Regions from separate parts of the Homo sapiens genome. Here region 1 is linked to region 2. Evidence: promoter capture Hi-C in 16 types of primary human blood cells and fetal thymus (Javierre and others, 2016). All regions are on one chromosome and are shown on one strand. The core of a region is centred on a gene start or on the middle of the fragment in contact, and the rest is flanking DNA. Distances in the headings are between cores, read along the strand shown. Region 1 overlaps MYCBP2 (MYC binding protein 2). Region 2 holds the start of MYCBP2-AS2 (MYCBP2 antisense RNA 2).

Region 1 (4,453 bases), core at 323-2,822, 170 kb before region 2:
AGTCTATGATGTGCCCTCCAGGCATGCACAAATGGAAGCTGGAGCAGTGCATGGTTTGCACTGTCTGTGGAGACTGTACAGGTTATGGAGCCAGCTGTGTCAGTAGTGGACGGCCAGACAGAGTCCCCGGAGGGTAAGAGACAATGATTCCTACTAAAGAACATGTGCAGAACACATTTCTTTGCAAAATCATTCCGGAGTATACTCTACTATTAATATTTTTTTCTTAAAGACCAGTGGCATCTTCACTTGATCTTAGCCAAAAGGCCAAGAAAGTATTATAATTCTTATAATTGTTTTCTGTTATAATAATTTATAATTTAATGTCATCTCTAAGGTTGCCTTTCTTTCATTTGATTCATTTAAACCATTATTTAAAAACAGACCATAAGTTTTTCAAGACTTGGGGCTGTACTTTTATTTGTATTATTTTTCAAAGCCTATTTAATGCTAGATATCTATTATATTTCTTTCTGTTGAACATGAATCTTTTCTAAATAAAATTATCGATATCATAAAGAGTACTTGATTAGATATATAGTTTTGTTTTAAATTAAATGTACCATTTATAAATTTAGAAACGTTGTATGCTTGCTTCTAAAGTTACATCATACCTGCTATATTTATCCTTGTTCTCAATGGACCACATTTTTCAGGGTTCTATATTATTGTCAATTTACAGTTAATATGTAAGTTTGGCAGAATAAGAATGCAGGTTTTCTGCTAGGATGTTAGGAAGAATTTTGAATCTATTTTCTACATTGCTAGTTATAGCCACTATAACATGATGGGATATTCTTTGTGTGATCAGCTTTGTAATAATTGGCTGATTTGGGGGAGTAGAGAAAATTTTGTGAAGAGAAGCCCAGAAGGAAGACAGCCATCCCTGCCTCTTGACCTTCCTCTTTGTCAACTCTGTAATAGTTGCTTCTTCCCAAATATTGTCTGGATCTAATAGGAGTTTATTTCTAAGTTTATATTTGGCCTTTCATAGTTAAATAGGTCATATATAACAGGCCTTTTCTTTAAGGCTGCTGAGATATGATTTTTTTTTTTTTTTTGAGACGGAGTCTCGCTCTGTCGCCCAGGCTGGAGTGCAGTGGCGGGATCTCGGCTCACTGCAAGCTCCGCCTCCCGGGTTCACGCCATTCTCCTGCCTCGACCTCCCAAGTAGCTGGGACTACAGGCGCCCGCCACTACGCCCGGCTAATTTTTTGTATTTTTAGTAGAGACGGGGTTTCACCGTTTTAGCCGGGATGGTCTCGATCTCCTGACCTCGTGATCCGCCCGCCTCGGCCTCCCAAAGTGCTGGGATTACAGGCGTGAGCCACCGCGCCCGGCCATGAACTTTTAAAAACAAATTTTCTTTACATTATTAGTATAAGCAATAAAGTCGTCTTTATCAAAGGATAATATTTATTCTGTAGTGCTTTATGTTTGGCTCTGTTTTCTGTTTTTTAAGCACCTAACTTCTTTATTTTTAAATTTAATTTGGATGCAGAAAGACTCTGATTATTTTTTAACAATGTTGGAATTGAAATTTATTCTCCTGGATCTCTCCAACGCTATTTCCATTAAAATTCAGTGTTAGCTGGGTGTAGTGGCCCATGTCTGTAATCCCAGCACTTTGGGAGGCTGAGGCCAGAGGATCACTTGAGGCCAGGAGTTTGAAACCAGCTTCAGCAGCATAGCAACACCCCTAACTCAAAAAATATATAATAAAAATAAAATTTAATATCCCCACTCTCTGAGCTTAAGCAGCCAGTATATATCGTGAACAAAATCTATAAATTATCTGGTCCCTTTTGAAATTAATTATTCTTCGTTTTTTCCTCCAGAGACTTACATAATTTATAATAATTATTCATAGACTTACATGGACAATACTAACCAAGTATAATAATTGCTTTATGAATGAAGCAAACTGAATATATCAGAATATTAAGGACTATTAAGCTGACTTCAATTATTATAAAATTGTGACTACATATCTTATTATGATAAAGTACATATAAAATTGACCAGCTTAACCATTTTTAAGTAGACAGTTCTGTGGTATTAAATCCATTCATAATGTTGTGCAACTATTACCACCATGCATCTCCATAACTTTTCATCTTGTAAAACTGAGACTCTGTAACTGTTAAACAATGACTCCTCATTCTTCCCTCTCCCCTGCCTCTGGCATCCACTATTCTTGTTTTCTTTCTGTGTCTGATTGACTACTCTAGGTACCTCTCATATAAAGAGAATCAGAGTATTTGTCTTTTTTGTGACTGGCTTATTTCACTTAGCATAATATCCTCAGTTCATCCAGGTTGTCACATATGTCGGAACATCTTTGCTTTTTGAGGCTGAATAATATTCTATTGTATGTATATTACCACATTTTGCTTATCCATTCACTCACTGATGAACACTTTGGTTGCTTCCACATTGTAACTATTGTGAGTAATGCGCTGTGAAGATGAGTGTACAAGGAGCTCTTTGAGACCCTGTTTTCAGTTCTTTTGGGCATATACCCAGAAGTGGAATTGTTGGACTATATGGTAATTTTATTTTTAATCTTTTGAGGAACTGCCATACTATTTTTCACAGCGGCCAACCATTTTACATTCCCACCAATAGTGTACAGATGTTCCAGTTTCTCCACATCCTTCTTAACACTTATGATCTGTTATTTTGGTAGTGGCATCCTAATGGGTGTGAGATAGTATCTCATTATAGTTTTGATTTGAATTTCTCCAGTGATTAGTGATGTTCAGCATCTTTCCATATACTTTTTGGCCATTTGTAGATCTTTGGAGAAATGCTATTCAAGTCCTTTGCTCACTTTTGAATCAGGTTGTCAGTTTCTTTTGTTGTTGTTGATGAGTTTTAGGAATTCTCTATATAGTTTGAATATTAATTCCTTATCAGATATATGATTTGAAAATAAAAAGTTCTGTCTGTGGGTTGTGTTTTTACTCTGTTGATGTTGTCTTTTCAAGCAGAAAATTTTTAAAATTTTCATGAAGTCCAGTTGTCTATTGTTTTTTGGTTATTGTCGCCTGTGCCTTTGGTATCATATCCAAGAAATTATTTCCCAATCTAGTGTTGTGAAGGGTTACTGTTATCTTTTCTTCTTCTTTTTTTTTTTTTGATTATACTTTAAGTTTTAGGGTACATGTGCGCAACGTGCAGGTTAGTTACATATGTATACATGTGCCATGTTGGTGTGCTGCACCCATTAACTCGTTATTTAACATTAGGTATATCTCCTAATGCTATCCCTCCCCGCTTCCCCCACCCCACAACAGGCCCCGGTGTGTGATGTTCCTTTTCTTCTAAGAGTTTTTTGTTTTTTTTTGTAATAGTTTTAGGTCTTACATTTAGGTCTTTGATTCATTTTGAGTTAATTTTTGTATATGCTGCTAGAGAAGTGTCCAGATCAAGTTTTCCCAGCAATGTTTATTGAAATGATTATCCTTTCTCTATTGAACCATCTTGGCTCCTTTGTCAAAAATCATCTGACCATATATGTGAAGGAAGATTTCTCAGCTGTCTATTCTATCCCATTGGTCTGTATGACTGTCTTTATGCCACACCACATTGTTTTGATTACTGTAGATTTGTAGTAAGTTTTGAAGTCAAAACCGAGTACTTTGTTCTTCTTTTTCAAGATTGTTTGGCTATTTGAGGTCCCTAGAGATTTTCTATGAATTTTAGGATAGGTTTTTCTATTTTGTAAAAACCATCATTGGGATTTTGATAGGGATTACAATGAATCTGTAGATTGCTTTGGGTAGTATGAACATCTTAAAAACATTAAGTCTTCTAATCCATGAACATAGATGTGTTTCTACTTATGTCATCTTTAATTTCTTTCAGCAATGTTTTGTAGTTCTCATTTCACCTCATTGGTTAATTACTAAGTGTATTCTTTTTGATGCTATGGAATTGTTTCTGTAATTTCCTTTTCATATTGTTCATTGTTAGTGTCTAGAAATACAACTGATTTTTGTGTGTTGACTTTGTATCTTCCTACTTTGCTGAATTCATTTTCTCTATTGGTTTTTTTGAGTGCAATCTTTAGGGTTTTCTACTTATGAGATTGTATTATCTGTGAACATAGATAATTTTACTTCTTCCTTTCTGCTTTGGATGACCTTTATTTCTTTTCCTGTCCAATTGCCCTGGCTAGAACTTCTAGTGCTGTTTAGGATTGGTCAAAGTGAGCATCCTTGTCTTCTTCCTGATATTACGAGGAAAAGCTTTCAGTCTCTCACCATTATGATGTTCACTGTGTGTTTTTCATATGTGGTTTTTATGTTGAGATCATTTCCTTCTATTCCTAGTTTGTCTACTGTTTTTATTATGAAAGGGCATTGAATTTTGTCAAATGCTTTTTGTACATCAATTGAGATGATCATGTGTTTCTTTTCTTTCATTCTGTTAATGTGTTACATTACAT
Region 2 (4,189 bases), core at 307-2,806:
ATGTCCCAAAAAGAGAGAGGGAAAATGAAATCTCAAAAACAAAAACCAAAATAGAGTTTTGACTTGAAAAGAATCTTGGGGAAAACAGAGCCTGGTTGTATGCACCCAGTCCTAAAAGCACCTTAAGGAGCATCACAGATGCTCAACAGATTCCAATTTCAATTTGAAATGTGTTGAGAATTTAGCATTGCTTTTACACTGTGAACCTTGTTACTAGATTCACATACTGGACTCACACTTATAAATAAATTCTCCTAATTAATGTATACAAGAAATAGATTGATGGAATGCTTGGGCTTCCCATGTTACTAATGATAAGACCAGTGGAAGAGAGATTTCTCTTTGTCCTCCTCACAAGATTTTTGAACTACAAGATAAACTATACCCTGATGAATTAGTATGGCATTGTAAGAGTAATAAATTTGAGGGGTTGTTGCAGTTGGTGTACCACTTGTTTACACAATAGATTCATTACCCTTTTTGCTTCTGTAGCCTTGATCTTCATCTGTCTAATTCTTTTATATTTAAAATGGGTCAACTTTCCTTAGAATTTACCTTGTTCCAAAGAAGTTACCTTTATTTCTCAAAAACAAAAACAATAGGAATGATTTTCTTCCCTGAATTTTTAAAATGTCTGTTACTAGAACATTAAAATTTCTTGAGATATTAGCTACAGAGTACTCATCTAAGAGTTCCTTAGATGTTCCTGGAAAATAATTATTTCGTATATTGCTTATATATCGCCTTTTTAGGTGCTGGAGTCTCAAATTCAAGCAATCTGATCACCAGTTCCTTCATCAGAGCAACGTCTTTCATCACATTAACAATATTTTGTCAAAGTCAGATGATGGCGATAGTGAAGAGAGTTTTAGCATCAGTATACAGTCTGGCTTTGAAGCTATGAGTCAGGTCAGTCATTTCAGTTATTATCCTGGTTGTCCTGTTAGTTAATAATACATCAAAGGAGAAACTGTAAGTTATTCATAATCAATTTGATCCTGTCTTCCATTATGTTTTATCTTATACCTGTTTGTTTTATCATCACGAAAGATTTGCTTTTAAGTATCATAAGTACTTATATTTGTTTCTGATAGGAATTATGCATAGTAATGTGCTTAAAGGACTTAACCAGCATTGTTGACATAAAAACTTCAAGCCGACCTGCCATGATTGGCAGTTTGACAGACGGCTCCACAGAAACCTTTTGGGAATCAGGAGATGAAGATAAAAACAAAACTAAGAACATCACCATCAACTGTGTAAAAGGAATCAATGCCCGCTATGTGTCTGTTCACGTGGACAATTCCCGAGATCTTGGGGTAAGAAAGCAAACGTGATTTACGGCTCTTTAGCTCTTTTCAGATCTTAGTATTCATGCACTTTCATTTCTGAATTTAGCAACAAGCTTTATCACCTGGAATTTCACCAACCAAACATCATTGCTATAATCCCCAAATAAATCTTAAGTCTAAAAACAAATTAATATGATTGGGAGCACTGTGGAATTCCATTTCTGAAAAGAGGTCTGATTACAAATATACCATGGCTACAGCTAAGCAAAATGAAAGTCTGCTCTACAATTTTCTGCTGCCATTCCCTTGGTTAAGATTTTCCCGTGACCTGGAAGTCCTCCCCTTAAACTCTGCTGATCAATTCTTCCAGGGTCTCTCAAACTCAGCAGAGAAATTCTAAGTAACTCCTCTAAAAAATTACTCTTTCCCTCTGCTGATTCTTTTTGTATTACTCTGGTGGCACTTAATAATAATCTTTGACCTATAGTGTAATCAGCTTTTTTTTTTTTTTCTGAGATGGAGTCTCCCTCTGTCACCCAGGCTGGAGTGCAGTGGCACAATCTTGGCTCACTGCAACCTTCGCCTCCAGGTTCAAACGATTCTCCTGCTTCAACCTCCTGAGTAGCTGGGATTACAAGCACACGCCACCATGCTTGGCTAATTTTTGTATTTTTAGTAGAGACAGGGTTTCACCATGTTGTCCAGGCCGGTCTCAAACCCCTGGCCTCAAGTGATCTGCCCACCTCAGCCTCCCAAAGTGCTAGGATTACAGACATGAGCCACTGCACCCAGCCTATCTTCAAGTGTCTACTTTGCCACAGTCCTCATGAAATAAAAAATAAGTTTCAGACTGTCCCAAATAATCATAATTTATATTCTCTTCAGCCTAGTTCATCCATGTGTTTCAACTGAATTAAATATTCTTTTATAAAAGGCACTAAACAAGAAAAAAGAGTCCTATTTGCTTGAGTATTAACAACCAAGAAAGAAATAGCACTAACTGCCAGACTGCCTTTCTTCTACCTCATTTAGAATTTTTTTCCTCAGAATGGATGTGGCTTGCTAGCAGATACAGTATTAATGGCTCTCCTTGAACCATTGCCTGGCTTCTCCTGTGCCATTTGCATATTTCCTTTCTCAGGAAGAGCCACAGTGGTAGGATTGGGTCTCAGATAACCTGGATGCAGGCCAGTCTGCAATCAGAGCAACCTCCAACTCCTGTACATCAGTGCAGGTTCTATTCCTCCCTGGTATTGAGTAAGTAAAAGAGGCTTAGCTAATATAATATGAGCTATTTCCTCCTCAGACCTAAGAATTTCCACTGGTGTAACTACTTTATCTTACTGGAAAGTCAAGTGTAACAAAGCAAAACATTTTTGTAGCTAGAACTCACTGTTCAGTGCAAAGCTATCTTTGGCTCATGGTACATTTTAAGCAAGGACATACTCTCCCTCAGAACAATGATTGCAATCAATTTAACACTTCTGTCTTTTCTAAGAGGAAATAATCATAACAGTATTCATTTTCAAAATTCCCAACATGTAAGCTGACATCTACTTTCCTTTTAACAGGCTTCCTCTATGTTATAGGTTGAGCATTCCAAATCTGAAAATCCAAAATGCTACAGAATCTGAAACTTTTTGAACACAGATATGACACTTAAAGGAAATGCATATTGGAGCATTTCTGGTTTTAGATATTCAGATTTGGGGTGCCCAGCCAGTAAGGATAATGCAAATAGAGTATTTCAAAATCCTAAAAAATCCCTAATCCAAAACACTTCTAGTCCCAAATATTTCTAATAAAGGATACTCAACCTGTATGTATGTTTTCCTTGAGTTATGTACCTCCATGTTCCTCAACCTGCCTACCACAGAGCCTTGTACACAGCATTTGTTGATTTGAGTTGTATCAGCCTACAGCACTCATATTATGCAGCTCTCCAAGGAATTAATGTTAATCTATTTCTTGATGTGCTTTGCGTAAAACTTATTCAGCCTTAAGATATTTGACACTAGTTTGAACATGTATTGAACTTGTACTGTTTGACATTTATTTTGTGTATTAATGTTGCCTTCCCTAGTTTGGCAAGTATCTTGGGGGATAGAACCTCCTCTCATATATCCTACTTCAAATCTGTAAGGAAGTCTGGGTACATTGTGACACTCATAAGTATTTGTTAGTTCAGTTACCTTCCCTCTTTATACTTCCAAAAGTAATGAAAATATAGCAACAAGAGTCTGACATAAGTGACAAGCAGATTTGTTGAAAGGCTTCATGAGGAAGGAATCTGAATATTTAGACTTTGAATAAGGAGAGGGAATGTCAAGCTGTGAGAGAGCACCTGGAGAGAGGCTGAAATGTGCAATTTAAGATGGAGTTTGTGAGAATGAGACTAAAGTTATAGGAACCGTGGTTAGTTGGAGGGATGGGGTGGGGTCAATCAGGAAGGACCATAAGAGACAGGCAGAAGAGTTGATGTGGTATTAGTAGGTCATGAGAAACCATTGTAAGTTCTGAAGCAGGAATATAGCATATTAACTATTGTGAATTGTCTATTTCAGAATAAAGTTACCTCAATGACCTTCTTAACTGGCAAAGCAGTAGAAGATTTGTGCAGAATAAAGCAGGTAATTGAAATTTTGTCATTAAATGTTTCGCTACCTAGAGAGAAATTTCTTCTTCTCAGCCTTCACTATTGAATTCCACCCTTGGCACACAACCAAAGTATTATAGGGAATTATCTATTTACAGAACACTAAATTGACAAGTGGTCCAAAACATAGGAATAGTAACCACCATCCCTGTGCTGGACATCTCACCTGTTTTCCTAAATGTTCCCCAGTCATGAGCAATTATATTGTACCTACAGTCTCCCTACCCTACTCCCCAACAAA

Evidence for each region. Contacts are between HindIII fragments. The CHiCAGO score rates a contact against its expected background, and 5 or more counts as called.
Region 1: a contact is called between a fragment that was not itself captured here and the fragment with the promoter of MYCBP2-AS2 in region 2, in 3 of 17 cell types (total B cells, monocytes and naive B cells). The highest score is 8.2, in total B cells.

What each region holds. Positions count from the first base shown.
Region 1 is chr13:77,246,831-77,251,283 of GRCh38, reverse strand. MYCBP2 (MYC binding protein 2) reads left to right here. Exons shown (of 83, transcript NM_015057.5): 15 at 1-133. Among named protein-coding and RNA genes, the nearest start is that of MYCBP2, 78 kb to the left of the region's middle. The HindIII fragment of the contact is 5,367 bases long and covers 1-4,255 here.
Region 2 is chr13:77,078,557-77,082,745 of GRCh38, reverse strand. It overlaps MYCBP2-AS2 (MYCBP2 antisense RNA 2), which reads left to right and starts at 1,556. Exons shown (of 2, transcript NR_170173.1): 1 at 1,556-1,832; 2 at 2,085-2,235. MYCBP2 (MYC binding protein 2) reads left to right here. Exons shown (of 83, transcript NM_015057.5): 64 at 753-909; 65 at 1,095-1,319; 66 at 3,857-3,922. The region is part of intron 2 of MYCBP2-AS1 (MYCBP2 antisense RNA 1); the gene reads right to left. The HindIII fragment of the contact is 5,615 bases long and covers 1,408-4,189 here.